Linked DNA regions of Homo sapiens: region 2 is linked to region 1. The links are contacts of gene promoters, found by promoter capture Hi-C in blood cells and fetal thymus (Javierre and others, 2016). All regions are on one chromosome and are shown on one strand. Each heading gives the region's core, a stretch centred on a gene start or on the middle of the fragment in contact. The rest is flanking DNA. Distances are from core to core; before and after follow the strand shown. Region 1 holds the start of FXYD6-AS1 (FXYD6 antisense RNA 1). Region 2 overlaps TMPRSS13 (transmembrane serine protease 13).

Region 1 (7,324 bases), core at 3,201-5,700:
TCCTTTGCAACACTCCCTGTCCTGAGGGGAGGACTCATGACGTCCCAGGGAGCCCTCTCAGGGCTGAAATAGAGACCAGGAGGTCTAAGAGGTGCTATTTGTTATCAGGATGGGCTGAGATCGGCGCTGGGGCCCCTGAGCACAGCCCTGACTCCAGGCTCTCTGCACCTTTCCCTCCAGACCACCCTGGAGGCAGGGCCAGACCTGTCCTGGGGTGGATAACAGCTCGGCTGGCAGGCGGGCCTGTCCCATGCTCCCAAGTGGAAACCTGCCCACTCAGCCCAGAGCGGCTGAGTGGAAATTCCCCAAGCTGGGGTTAGAGAAGTTTACAAACCTCGGGACTGGGTGAGACTTAGAGGTACCTGGTCCAAACATATTCTAAGTGGTCCAGAAAAGTGGAGCTCTCAGCCAAATCCCCCCCACCCACACCGCCAGTATACACACTCTGTTCCCTGCCCGCCACCAGTGTTGTGAAGGAAGGCATCTCTATCTCAGAGCCCGGTGTGATTGATGGTCCAACCAGAAAGGACACCAAAGCCATCCCATCCCAACCCCTCCCTTTAAAAGTTGCTCCCTCTCCTGCTCAAAATCCTCAGAGAGGGCTCGGATGATACGCAAAATCTTTGTGTGTCCAAAAAAGAAGCCCCTTTTTTTTTTTGAGATGGAGTTTTGCTCTTGTTGCCCAGGCTGGAGTGCAATGGCGCGATCTCAGTTCACTGCAACCTCTGCCTCCTGGGTTCAAGCGATTATTCTGACTAAGCCTCCCAAGCAGCTGGGATTACAGGAGCCGCCACCACACCCAGTAATTTTTGTATTTTTGTATTTTTAGTAGAGACCGGGTTTCGCCATGTTGGCTGGTCTCAAACTCCTGACCTTAGGTGATCCGCCCGCCTTGGCCTCCCGAACTGCTGGGATTACAGGCGCGAGCCACCGCACCCAGCCAAGAAGCCCTTCTCATTCTGGCTCTAGGCACCTGTGAGCTGGTCCCCCACCTCCCCGCCCTGCTTTCTGCTCCAGCCATGCTGGCCTTCTTGACACCCCTCACCCTCCAGGACCTCCGCACCGGCTGTTCCCGCTTCCTAAATGCTCAGCCTCCACAGGGCTTCCTGCTCGGTACACGCTGCCTTCAGGGCTTTCTTCAAAGCCCTGATTCTGGACATCCCTGTATAAAATGTTCACACCCACTGCCTCAGCCTGGCTTTTCCTCTGTGGCACTTGTTCTTAACTAAGGTATGTATTTCCCTTATCTTGTTTGTCCCTCTCCCAACTAAAATGTAAGCACCAGGAGAGCAAGGATTTTTGTTTGTTTGTTCATTCCCCCATGCCTGGAACAGTGCATCGTGGGACCCAGTTTTATTAAATGAATGAATCAGTCCCAGGCAAAAATCAGGCAAAGATGGGGACAGGATAGAGGGGAAATCACTTCTCCCATGCTGCAGGCAGACCTAGGACTTGCCTCAGGCAGCCTCCTTCCATGCTGTCGCCTGCCCTGTGAGGAGTCACAAGACCCGATTTGCCCTCACAGAGGCAGCAACCCTCACCTTGCTGACAGCTCCCCCAGAGTCCCTCTCGGGGTTCTCTCTCCCTCCTCTTGCACCCCATCCCCCCACTCCCCTAACCTCCCCTTCCTTCTCCAGCCCAGCAGCAATTTTCAGAAATTGTCCTGTTTGTTCTTTGGGGGAAGCCCAGGCATTTGTTAAGTCAAGCAGGTCCCACCCCTCTCGCTTCACTCATGTTTAAGTCCTTCTCAGACTTCCTTCCTGTCCTCCCCCAGCTAGCTCAGGTCATGGGTCCTAGCTAGCACTGGGGACAGGGAACCCCTCTCTGAGACACCTGCTCTCCTGCAGAGAGGTTGCGGCCCTTCCACCTGTGGCCCATGTTCCTGAGAGCAGCTCAGTTCAGGAGGGTCTCTCCTCCTAGACACCACGCAAGGCACCCTGAGGGCCAGACACACCCATGCATAAATCCCCTTTCATCCTGAGACTTTGCTGAGGACTGCCTGACCCTGGGCAAGGGCACCCCTCTGGGTCTCCTCCCACCTGTAAAATAGGGTAATAACACCTACCTTGCAGTATTGTTGTGGGAACAGAGGCAAGGTAGGTCAAGCGTTTGGCCAGAGAAGGTCCTAAAAACTGATGGCTGTGTTTTCCTTACTCCGAACTGAGCCCCCCAGGAGACAAGAACACTCACAGCAATCCCTTCCCTTGGCTCAGTCCCCAGTTGCGGTGATCTCTAAAGCAGGCCTCTGGGAGCACCCTGCCCTGGTATGATCCTGCTGGCCACAACTCACCCTGCATCTCCAGCCTCCCTTTCTTCTCCACACAAAACCAAGAAACCTCCTTTGTCTAATGGTTCCAGGATGGAGACAAAGGAGCATCCAGCTGTGCTCTCCTGTTCTCTGCAAGACCCAGAGCTCTGGGAGATGTTGGGAGGTAGAGGCAGTGCCCACTCCTGGATGCGTCAGCACTGTCACAGCTGATGGGACCGTGCCCTCAGTGGCGAGGCCTCCATCTCCCCTGTCTCCCCTAGGCAGGCCTCCCTTTTGTCTCCTGACTCCTAAGTCTCAGGGCAGTCATTTGGGGTGGTCGTTGCTGGGTTGGTGGGGCAGGGAGGAAATAGGCTGGAATCCAGCTGACCTCTGTTTTCCTGGTGATCAAAGGCAGAGGCCCTCACCACCAGCTTCCCAGAATGGGGTTCTCCAGCTCCGCCAGCTCTGGCCTTTGTGGGAGTTTACAGCCTTGAACTCCAGGTCCCCAGATCAGTTCCTCCTGGTGTTGGCTTGCAGCTGGAAAGGGGCTCCAATGAAGCAGAAGCCAGAAGCACCTAGAAAGCCATGACCCCAGGCCCAAGTCAGTCCTCAGCTGCATAACCCGTATGGCCACTGGGCAGGGAAAGTGGCAGTTCCCAAGCCCCATTTGTCCCACTCAGAGGTCCTGAATCCTGAGGAACGCTGGCTCCTGCCTCCTGCTATGGTTGCAGGTGCCAGGTCCCTGGGGTCTTATAAGGCAGGGCTGGAAGGAGGTGGGCCCCAGAGGGTCCATTCCTTAAGTGTTGGCTTCAAGAAGGCCTGAGCCATGGTGCACAGAGGTTCTGAGAACTGCCAAAGGGCAATGTACTCTGAGAGTCAAGGTCACCAGCTGGTGACAAGGGCAAACCCATTTGACCCACCTCCCCCACAGTGAATGCCTTGGAGAGAAATGCATTCTTGACTGTTCTCAGAACTCACATCCAGGCTTGAACCACAACAGAGCCCATTCCTCTCCAGCTTTTCTTGGTTTTCTCCTCCCAGTAACCAAACTCCCTCTCACCTCTGGGAGAGGCTCGCCACCTCCGGGAAGACCTCGCGGAGCAAGCCCACCCCTGGTTACTCTTACCTTCCCTCCACCACCTTCCGGATGCCACTGACATGGCTTGAATGGCCAGCATGTGGCCGTGTCACCATTCTCTTCATTTATAGCACAGATTGCCAAGTCCCTGGCCTCCTTGAGGCCTCAGGTCGGGTAAGCTGTTAAACGTTTGTACCTGCACTGAGCCTGGTGCCCACTCTCCACACTTGGCAGCAATTCCACCCTATTCCAGGGTCTCAGTGGTTCCAAAGAGCTGCTTAGAGCCTCCCAACAATTCAGCCAGGCAGGCTGTGAGATGCCCATTTTACAGAGGACACTGCAGGTGGTCTGCAAACAGGTCAGAACATGAACCCAAGTCTAACAGAGACAAGAGGAACCCGGCCATCAGAGAATGAGGAGACAAGGAAATGGATAGTGATGCCAACATTTATAGCATAATGGCTACATGGAGAATTGTCACGGTGCTTCGATGTCCATTGTATCACTTTGACCCTGTGAGATAACAGAAAACATCTTGATGCATTTATTTTATAGGTGATGAAACTGAGGCTTAAGTGGCTTTTCCAGGGTTACACAGTGAGCAGGAGGCCCAGCTTACCCCAAAGCTAGGAAGGACTTGATTATTCAGAAAAGGAAACTGACAGAGAGGCTGGGGTCTTTCCAAGCTCACACTGTTAGAGCAGAAGGGACCTCGGGGATGTTCTGAGCCTCAGGCTCTACCAGACTGCCTCCAAGCCCAGCTCAGAGGTAGGAAACCGTTCTTCTGGATAGTGCAGGGGGGCCCACCCCCTCCAGTCCCTGCCATCCAGGTCCTTCAGGACATGCGATCACAGCATCACCTGCTCTGCCATCATTGCCTTGGCAGGTGCCCCACTGTTGTGCAACCAGGCCCGGGGCTGGGCTGGCCCCATCAGATCAACAGCTGGTTGGCTTGAGCCGGCTGAGTCTGCCCCCCTGGAGCTCAGCTGTGACAGCAATAAATCACACTAATGGAGAGAGGTGGCCATTCCTTCTCTGTGGCCTGGAGACAGGTTTTTCCAAAGCTCCTCCCCTGGCTCAGGCAAACACACCTGACCTTTCTCTCGCTGGGCCCAGGGTGAGGCAGAGCAGCCAGGAACAAGGTGGGGTGAACCAGACAGAGCTGGAGTGCTCTCCCACCCCTGCTTTGCCCAGCCTCCCCGCCAAGCCCATGATTCCAAGCAAGGTAAGGCCCTCCTCCCAGAGGAAGGGGCCAACAGCCCGGTGACCTTGGAGTGTGCTTCGCCTGGCACTCCCCTCACACCGCTCCCTACAGCTTGTACTCTGCCTCTGACTCTCTTCCAAGAACAATTTGGCAAGTTCTAATCTACATCTTGCAAAAAAAAAACAAAAAACAAAAAACAGAGAGGTAGGAGGGCCACAGCACCTGGGGTCCCAGAAGGCAGACTGACCTATTCCTACAGCAGGGGTAAGTAACGCAGAAAACCTCCAGGCAAAGAGACATGGAGATCTTCGAAATGGAATGGGGGGTGGAGGGAGTCACTGGGAGGCAAAAGGTGTGGGACACCTGAGGTTACTGAGACAGGGAACTTGGGATTCCCTTCTGGGAAATGACACAGCATGGCAGCTGTCCTTCTTATTCAGTCAAGCTACATTGCCTCATTAAACCAAATCACAGCTACAAACCAGTGCCACATGCCTGGAGGCTGAGTGGACACTCCTGGTCCTCCTCATGGAGATATATAGCACTCTGAGTTCTGATCCAGCTCATCTGTGTGAAGTCCTCAAACAAGCACATAGTAAGTGCTCCATAAACTTCAGCTGCTCATTTTTTTTAATTATTACCATTTTGACCATCATTTCTTCGATTGTTCTTCATGTGTCTTGTTTCCAGACCATTAGACTCCCACAGGAGGCTCCTTGGAGCATGGTCCAGCTAGTTTATGTCTTGAAGGGGCAGCCATGCTCCAGGTGCAGTCTTGGGAGCCATCTGATCACTGTCCCTTCTTCTGAGCATCTGCCTGCTGAAGGAGGCTAGGCCATGTGCTGACAAGCACTATGGACAGACAGCCCGGGGTCAAGTCCTAGCTCCTCCATCCCCCAGCTGTGTAACCTGGACCAGGACGATTGTATCTCTGACCAATCTCAGAATATAGCTGGATTACTAGGAGGAAAACTAAGTGAGTGCTTAGAGGCGGGCAAAGTAAGGATAACCATTTGTAGATGATGTGCTAGAGATGCTGACCATCATTCCTTACTCTTAACATAATTATTATGAGAAAAATTAGAACCTCCTCATTGGACTTCCTTATTCCTATGTCGAAGTATAATGTTCTGTTTTTACTAACGTATGGGGGGCGGCACACACAAAGCTTTGCATGTCTAGGGCCTCTAGGGATCTCAGCCTGGCCTCGCTATGAAATTTCTGCAAGGCCTGTCAATTCCCTGATGTATCACGAGTGTTCCCGAACAATAAGCTCATTTACCAGGTCTTGCTGTGACCAGATAGTTTTTAATCGCCATGATCACTGGGTTGACAGGTTGAGCTTGAGCTCTACCATAAGCCTGTGTCTTTCCAAAGGCCTGGGGGACCGAAGGCAGAAGCAAGAGCACACGTAGAGAAGGCACCGAGCAAGCGGATCTGTGCGGTTCTTCGGTTCTAAACAACTTGCGGAATCCAGGCGGACTCAGGGCCTGTGTGGCCACTGGGCAGGGAAGGTGGTGGTTCCCAGGCCCATCGAAACCACAAGGAGCACTGACTTCTGTCTCCTGCTATAGCTTCAGGTGCCAGGTTCACTGGGGTCTTAGAAGTTGGGGCTGGAAGGAGGTGGGCCCAGAGGGTCCCGCTCCTTAAGTGCTGGCTTCAAGATGGAAGATATTAAGACGTTCCAGGGGTCGATTCTTTTTTCAAGACCCTAAGATGTTCCAGGCTTCTGTAGAGCAGGCACAGTCCTTGCCCTCCAGGAATTGTATCAATAAAGACACAAAACACTAGAGGCAGAAGCTGCACACAGGCAACCTCCACGCAGAATCTGCCCACATCTGTGTTGGTTTGGCCAACAGTGGTTTTTAGAAAGTTGAGTCAGAGTGTCTTTGGGAGGACACCGTAGGTGACTGCAGGTGCCATGCCCCATCGTCACTCCAGCAGATTCACATATTGGCATTACCTGCCTGGTCTCTACAGTCTGGATGCCAAGTATGAAGTGTGAATATAAAGGCAGCAAACAAGTGTGATTGGGGCACAAGAAAGGGATTCGGCTGGGCGCTGTGGCTCACGCCTCTAATCCCAACAATTTGGGAGGCTGAGGCAGGCAGATCACTTGAGGCCAAAAGTTCGAGACCAGCTTGGACAACATGAAGAAATCCCGTCTCTACTAAAAATATAAAAATTAGCCGGGTATGGTGGAAGGCACCTGTAATCTCAGCTGCTCAGGAGGCTGAGGCAGGAGAATCGCTTGAACTCAGAAGGCAGAGGTTGCAGTGGGCCAAGATAACGCCACTGCACTCCAGCCTGGGCGACAAGAGCAAAACTCCATCTCAAAAAAAAAAAAAAAAAAAAAAAGGGATTCGATTCTACCTAATGCCCAGGGAGGCTCCACAGAGGAGGGGTATTTCACAATCCACGTCACCCACCCTGTCACTCCCTTGATCCCTTCCTTCCTTTTTTCTTTTTAGAGACAAGGTCTCATTCTGTTGCCCAGGCTGGAGTGCAGTGGTGCAATCACGGTTCACTGCAACCTGGAACTCCAGGGTTCAAGCAATCCTCCTGCCTCAGCCTGCCGAGTAGCTGTGACAACAGGTGCGAGCCACCATGCCCAGCTAAGATTTCACCATGTTGCCCAGCTGGTCTTGAACTCCTGGCCTCAAGCAATTCTCCTGCTTTAGGCTCCCAAGTTGCTGGAATTACAGGTATGAGTCACCACCCCTGGCTCTCTTTACAAGTCCTTAGGTAGTGGCCCCAGAACTGACCAAAGAGAAATGTTAGGATGTTTTACTCC
Region 2 (7,145 bases), core at 3,117-5,616, 91 kb after region 1:
ACTGAAACCTCCGCCTCCCAGGTTCAAGCTATTCTCCTGCCTCAGCCTCCCATGTAGCTGGGACTACAGGTGTGCACCACCGTGCCTGGCTAATTTTTGTATTGGAATCTTGCCCTGTTGCCCAGGCTGGAGTGCAGTGCCGCGATCTTGGCTCACTGCGACCTCTGCTGGGTTTAAGGGATTCTCCTGCCTCAGCCTCCCGAGAAGCTGGGATTATATGCACCCGCCACCACACCCGGTTAATTTTTGTATTTTTAGTAGAGATGGAGTTTCACCATGTTGGCCAGGCTGGTCTCAAACTCCTGACCTCAAATGATCCACCCGCCTCAGCCTCCCAAAGTGCTGGGGTTACAGGCGTGAGCCACCAGACCACACCCAGCCGATAGTGGGGTTTTGTTTGTTTGTTTGTGGGAATGCTGGGCTTGCTATGGAAAAATCTGAATCTGATTGCCTCCATTCCCAACTGCGTTTCCTGGGCAAGCGACATAACCCTTCAGTGCCTGATTCCACATGTGTAAAATGGGCAGACCTTACCTCCTTCCCCCAGATAAATGGGTGATACACATGAAAGAGCCTGGTCTATAAATGTGTGTCAAACCATGACAAAGATAACAGCCCACGAGCACTTTACGGGACCCCATTCCAACCTCTTGACAGCTCTTTGCAGTTGGTATGGTTAGCCTCATTTTATAGATATTGAAACAGAGGTCCAGGCAGGTTAAGAACATGCCCAAATTCACACACCAGGTAAGTGACAGCTCAGATTCTAACCAGGCCTGCTTGGAGCAAGGAGGGCCTTGACCTACAGTGTCACAAACATCCACAGGACCTACCTTCGTCTCTTCAGGGCTCGTATGTGCAGTTTTGCACCATTATGTGATTTGATTCTCACAAGTCTCTCAGTTAGCAAGCTGGGCAGGAATTACTATCCCCAGTTTGTACACAAGGACCCGGGGCTCAGAGAGACGAAACAGCCCACCTCACCCCCTGAATGAGCTGGTGGTCTTTAGGAACTCTAGCACAGTCGTCTCATTCCCAGGCAGCTCAGGCTGTCTCTACCTGAACAGAACCCTCCCATCCAGCCCCAGCTGCCCCATCTTGAAGAGGCCCAGAGGAAAATGGGTGGGCAGGTGGGGGGAGGGAGCTGGGGAAAGCTGTAAAGCTGGAACAGGAGAAGGGAGTCAGACCAGACAGGGAACTGGTGGGGAGGGGGCATTGGTGGAAAGCCAAGAACTGCAGAAAGGGCGACACATCCGAAAGTGGGATGGAGTCTCTGCAGGCCCTGGGTCTGGGGGTATCTAGCTCTGGTCTGGGTAGAGCAAGTGCTCTGCTGTCAGAGCCTGGGAGGCAGGTGGAAAGTGGCTGGACCCCAAGACCAGGGCAAGAGGAGAGTTCTGGAGCCTCAAGACCTGAAGAAGAACTGCCCATGAAGAGAACTACAAGTCCCAACAGGGACATCAGGATGGAAGGGCAGCCCCCAGACCAGAGGAGAGCAGCATCCAGAGTGAGGTCCCCGCTCCACCCCCTGACTCTGACCCTCAACCCAAACCCTCCCAGACATCAAGAAGAGTTCTCATCTTCAGGGATCATCTGAGTAAGAGATTCCACACCAACCTTCTTTAGGCACTTCACGGCCTGCTGCCCCACGCTGCTGGAAGTTCTTCTGGATACCTAACCTGTTATAGCACTAACTCATTTCTTTTCCCCAATTCTTGGAGAACAACTGCTGAGACTCTAGCCTCCCACCGCTGGCCTGATCTCACCCTCAGAGTAGAGGCCTTCAGCAGCTGGGGAATAGGAAGGGGAGGAGACTACTTGTTTGTTTGTTGTTTGTTTGCTTTGAGACAGAGTCTCACTCTGTCGCCAGGCTGGAGTACAGTGGCGTGATCTCGGCTCACTGCAACCTCCACCTCCCGGGTTCAAGTGATTCTCCTTCCTCAGCCTCCTGAGTACCTGGGACTACAGGCACGCGCCACTGTGCCCAGCTAATTTTTGTATTTTTAATAGAGATGGGGTTTCACCATGTTGGCCAGGATGGTCTCGATCTCTTGATCTTGCGCCCGCCTCAGCCTCCCAAAGTGCTGGGATTACAGGCGTGAGCCACCGCGCCCAGCCGAGACTTCTTATCCAAGGTCCCAAGCTACAAGGGGCAGAACCAGGACCAGAACCCAAGCTTCCCAAATCCTGGCCTTTGGCAGTGAGCCGAAGACTCAGAAGTGGAAGTGAAATGACCAACTCCTTGATGTGTCCTGGTGTCTCCACAACCTGCCTGCAGACCAAAGGCTTCTCAGCCTGCTCAGGGGCAGGTGCACAGGGTGGAGCAGGGGAGTGTGGTCAACTCTGAGCCACATCCCTGGCCTAACCTTGCCAACCATTCTTTCCTGACCATGCCTCTCCTCCCCACCTACCCGTGGGGTAGTCTCTGAGGTTACCCCCTGCAGTAACACAATTGTAAGCCCTTACCATGACATGGAACAGGCCCACACCCCAGGCTGTCACTGCTACCACCTGGCTATGCCTCTGCAGCTCCCAAGGGTCCTCACCCAAGGCTTGTTCAGGGCCCTCCAGACGTGTTGGGGCAGGAAGGCAGGGCAGGGGTCCGCAGGAAAGCGGTAAGGGACAAGCCAGGGAGGGCTAAAAGGAGCAGCCCCTGGCTCTGGGAGTCTTTCCAAAGCCTGTCCCTGGACAGAAGTCTATAAGCATTTTTACTCCCACTTTACAGACTGAGAGGTAGAGGCCCAAAACATTTGTGTGCTTTGCCCAAAGTTGTTCAGGCCCATCTCACAGCAGAGGAGGGACTAAACCCAAGGCCCCCCACTTCCAGCCCAGGGGTCTCGACACCACAGCTCCCAGGGTTAGATCCCCCCTGAGGCGAATGGGATGTTTTTCTGGTTTCCAGTTGCAGACTCTGCCCCTTGGGCCGTTACCTGGTGGGGATGGTAGTAAGTTAGCCAGCCCCTGAGTATGTCCAGCTCTTGTCCTCTCCTGGACCTTCTGGGGGCCCAGCCAGTGAGAGAGGGGGCCTGAGTGATGTGGGCTCATGGTTGCTTCATCTCAGTGGTTATGGAGCTGCTGCTGTGGATCGAGCCCCAGGCTCTGCATAATGAGAGTTCTTCAGCCATAAGCAGCAGCCTGAACTTGGGAAATATGCACTTCAGGTCCCCCAGAGCCTGGGCTTGCAGTGTGAACCACCCTATAAAAAGCTCTCCCGCAATTGAACAATGAGAACACTTGGACACAGGATGGGGAACATCACACACCAGGGCCTGTCGGGGAGTGGGGAGACGGGGGAGGGATAGCATTAGGAGAAATACCTAATGTAAAGGACGAGTTAATGGGTGCAGCACACCAACACGGCACATGTATACATATGTAACAAACCTGCACGTTGTGCACATGTACCCTAGAACTTAAAGTATAATAATTAAAAAAAAAAAAAAAAAAGCTCTCCTTCTAGTCCTGAAGAATGTCCAGCAGGGAGCAGTAGCTGCTTCATGGCCTGAGGGCGGGTGCATCAGGGCCCGTTTCAGTCCAGTTTAAGCCAATTGGGCCTCCCTCCTCAGCCCTGGGCCATCCCTTCGTAAAGCTACCACCCAGGGTTGGGCATATCACAGGCTGTCAGAGTTGCAAAGATTCTGAAAACCCTCTAAGCTGGGCGTGGTGGCGCCGGCCTGTAGTCCCAGCTACTTGGGAGGCTGAGGTGGGAAAATGGCTTGAGGCCAGAAGCTGAAGACCAACCTAGGCAACATAGCAAGACCCCATCTCAAAGAAAAGAAAAGAAAAGAAAAGAAAACCTACCCAAGCCCTTTATACTATTGTTGAGGCGATGAAGGCCCAGAAAGGCTGTGTGACTTGCTCACGGACACACAGCCAGGTGGGGACGGTGCCAATTCTAGAACCATGATCTTCTGGCCCCCATCCTTGGGCTGTTACACAACACTCTGCTCTTCCCCTCTCTGTCCCTTACCAGCCTCCATGAGAAAGGACCCTTCCCAGACAGAGGCCCCCGTGGCAGCGTCCCTTTTCCAGTGACCCTGGGCATCAAGGGCGCCCATAGGGTGGGCACGGGCAGACCATGGGCCAACAACCCAGCACTCTGGGCTAGGCAGGAAGAAAAACCCCTCACTAAACCCTTCTGGAAGCACTGGCGGCACTGAGAAAGATCAGGATCTCCCTTTGACAGAGCCTAAAAACCCTCCTTGCCTGTTGGGAACCTGGGGAGCCCTGGGGTTGTGGCAGGGGAGGCCTGAACCCTTCCCAGCGAGGGCCCGGCTGGACTGGGTGACTTTTTTCCCTTTCTCACGGCTAGACCCAGGCTTCACTGTACCTCCAGGTTCCCAAGGCCCTTTCCTACTCTCCCCCTCCCCGAACCCAGAGAAACCCCACAAATACAGGCTCTCCTCAGCACACAGGCATCTTCCCCACCACCTCCTCACCCAGCACCAGCATCTCCAGCACACACGCAGTATACAGCTCAGGGACTTGGGTCAGCCCTTGAGGCAGACTGAACTCTGGAAGGGGCCAGAGCTGCAGGGTCTGCCTCGCCCTGGGGGTGGGGGGCACGGGGAGCCTCGCTTCTGCTCCTAGGCCGCCGTGTGACCTTGGGGACAGTCACATCCTTCTCTGGGCCTCAGCTCCCTCTTCAATAAATTAAGGGTGTTGGACAATCAGCAGTTTTCAAACAGGGTTCCACAGAGCATTTCAGTTTCCGTGGAGGTGCCTTGCAGACCAGCTGGTGGGGACTGTGGTGGGCTCTGAGCCCTTACCCCACCTCAACAGAGAAGACCGACCTTTCAGTTTCATACAGCGGAGTCAACATAACATTCATTTGAACAAAAGAGGCAGCTGCTACAACGAACTTGAAAGGGACTGGCCAGAGTAAGTGCTGAAGTCCCTTCTAGTTTCCGATGCCTCCTGTGCACATGAAAAAGCTCAAGGAATCCCTGTTAGACCAGAATCAAGACGCCTCCTTGTTCATTCATTCGTTCATTCACTCATTCATTCATTCATTTATCAAATGCTGTAAAGAACATGGAGTGCCCACTATTGCCCAGCAAATAATGTTTGATTGCCCAGGAACTTGCTGCCTCAATGTTTCCCTGTGTCTGTGCCTTCTCTTGCTGCCAGTCCTAGGGTAGTGACACACTCAGGGCTGGTACATAATGGGGGCCCCTCTAAAGTTTTGGGTATTGCTTCCCTCCTAGGGAAACCAACCCCCATCTGGTGCTGTCAAGGCCTCCACTTGACGGCTAAAGCCAGGGTTCCCTGTGGTGGCTTCCCTCATGCCTGCACCACCAGTGCCCTGCCCACTTGGCCAGGCACATCCACCCTTGTTGTTGCTATACCAAGAGGAATCTGTTCTGCCAAAACAAGACACTTAAGCTAAGTGGCCATTGTTACATCAGTTGTCCTTCCCACCCAGCTCCCCAGCCCAGGGCCCAATACACACACTCCCGCACGCTTACGCTCACATCTGCCAAGTCTCAGGGGACAATGCAGGGGAAATCGAGGTGGCTGTGCCAAAGGAAGTCTGCTCCTCACCAATGACAACATGAAACAGAGGACAAGGTGAGGGCTGCACACCTGCAGGGGCACAGGGCAGGTACCAGGGTCCTTGGAGGACGAGGTGAAGGCTGCACACCTGCAGGGGCATAGGGCAGGTGCCAGGGTCCTTGGAGGACGAGGTGAGGGATGCACACCTGCAGAGGCATAGGGCAGGTGCCAGGGTCCTTGGAGGACGAGGTGAGGGCTACACACCTGCAGGGGCATAGGGCAGGTGCCAGGGTCCTTGGAGGACGAGGTGAGGGATGCACACCTGCAGAGGCATAGGGCAGGTGCCAGGGTCCTTGGAGGACGAGGTGAGGGCTACACACCTGCAGGGGCATAGGGCAGGTGCCAGGGTCCTTGGGGTGCCTGGGGCTGGGATGGGGCTGGGACACGGCATGGCAGAGTGACTTGACCCGCGGGTGAGCCATCTCAGGAACTGCCCAGCTCCTCTGGAAAGGGTGCCTTATCCTGGACCAGCGGTGGGCCCCCAGACGGTTCTCACCAATCCCTAGCACCTGTGGCCTTGGGCTAATTTGGAACCTGTTCCACTTGAAGAAGGCCCAGTATAAGAAAATCCACTCCACAAAGGAATGTTGCTTCATCAATGGGTCTAATTCAGTCTTTCTTTAATAAGCATTGCACTGCTCTGAGAATTAAAAATGAGAATTGAAAAAGCACAAAATACGCATTGTCAAGAACAAATCTGGTGTGGCGCACCTGTCATCCCCGTTCTATGTAATTCCAGACTGTCAGGGAGCCAGAAAGGAGCCTCAGGGGGGAATGTGTCCAACCCTCTTCTTTGGTGGGGAAGCTGAGGCACAGGTAGAAGAAGATGTTTGTCCAAATTTATAGGAGCCCACCCCAAATTCTAGGCAGTGATGATAAATTTCAACATTCTCTGACTCCATCTCTATCTATCTATCTCTATCTCTCTATGCCAGATGCTATTCTAAATGAGCCTTACTATGGGAAGGACACTATTTTGAGACTCCTTGAGGTAGGTATTATTAAATTAAGCTTAGCCTAAAGCTGCCTCCTTACATATTTTAAGTTCGGATCAAAAGGTTTCTCTGTACATAATGAACTATAACTCAACTGGACGTGTAAACAGACTGTAAACTACTCTTGTTAACAATCACCAATTTTGCACAATCAAAGGCAGCCAACTGTTCAAACAGTGTTCAAATAAGGCTATTTCTGTACCTCACTTCCTTTTTCCATACACTGCTTGCCTTTTTCTGTCCATAAATCCTCTCCGACCACGCAGCTGTGTGGGAATCTCTCTGAATCTATTCTCCTTCGGGGGACTGCTCCATTTGAGAATTGTTCTTTGCTCAATTAAACTCTGTTAAATTTAGTTTGTCCAACATTCTTCTTTTGAGAGTAGTATTATTATTCCATTTTACAGATGAAGAAACTAAGGTACAGAAAGGTGAAGTGGCTTGCCCAAAGCTGACGGGGAACATGGTCAGTTCTCTGTCCACCACGACATGCAACTTTCTTTTGAATATGAGAAACTGAGACCCTTCTCCACCTCTTTTCCAAGATCCCTCTGAAGATCCAGCAGCTGACAGAGGAGTGCCATCAGGCTCAAGCCC

Evidence for each region. Contacts are between HindIII fragments. The CHiCAGO score rates a contact against its expected background, and 5 or more counts as called.
Region 2: a fragment that was not itself captured here is called in contact with the fragment with the promoter of FXYD6-AS1 in region 1 in 7 of 17 cell types (total CD8 T cells, M1 macrophages, megakaryocytes and 4 more); the score reaches 6.1 in total CD8 T cells.

The regions. Positions count from the first base shown.
Region 1 is chr11:117,829,268-117,836,591 of GRCh38, forward strand. It overlaps FXYD6-AS1 (FXYD6 antisense RNA 1), which reads left to right and starts at 4,451. Exons shown (of 3, transcript NR_186291.1): 1 at 4,451-4,794; 2 at 7,002-7,235. All of the region lies in intron 6 of FXYD6-FXYD2 (FXYD6-FXYD2 readthrough), which reads right to left. The HindIII fragment of the contact is 9,424 bases long and covers 1-5,696 here.
Region 2 is chr11:117,920,413-117,927,557 of GRCh38, forward strand. The region is part of intron 1 of TMPRSS13 (transmembrane serine protease 13); the gene reads right to left. Among named protein-coding and RNA genes, the nearest start is that of TMPRSS13, 5.4 kb to the right of the region's middle. The HindIII fragment of the contact is 4,391 bases long and covers 2,172-6,562 here.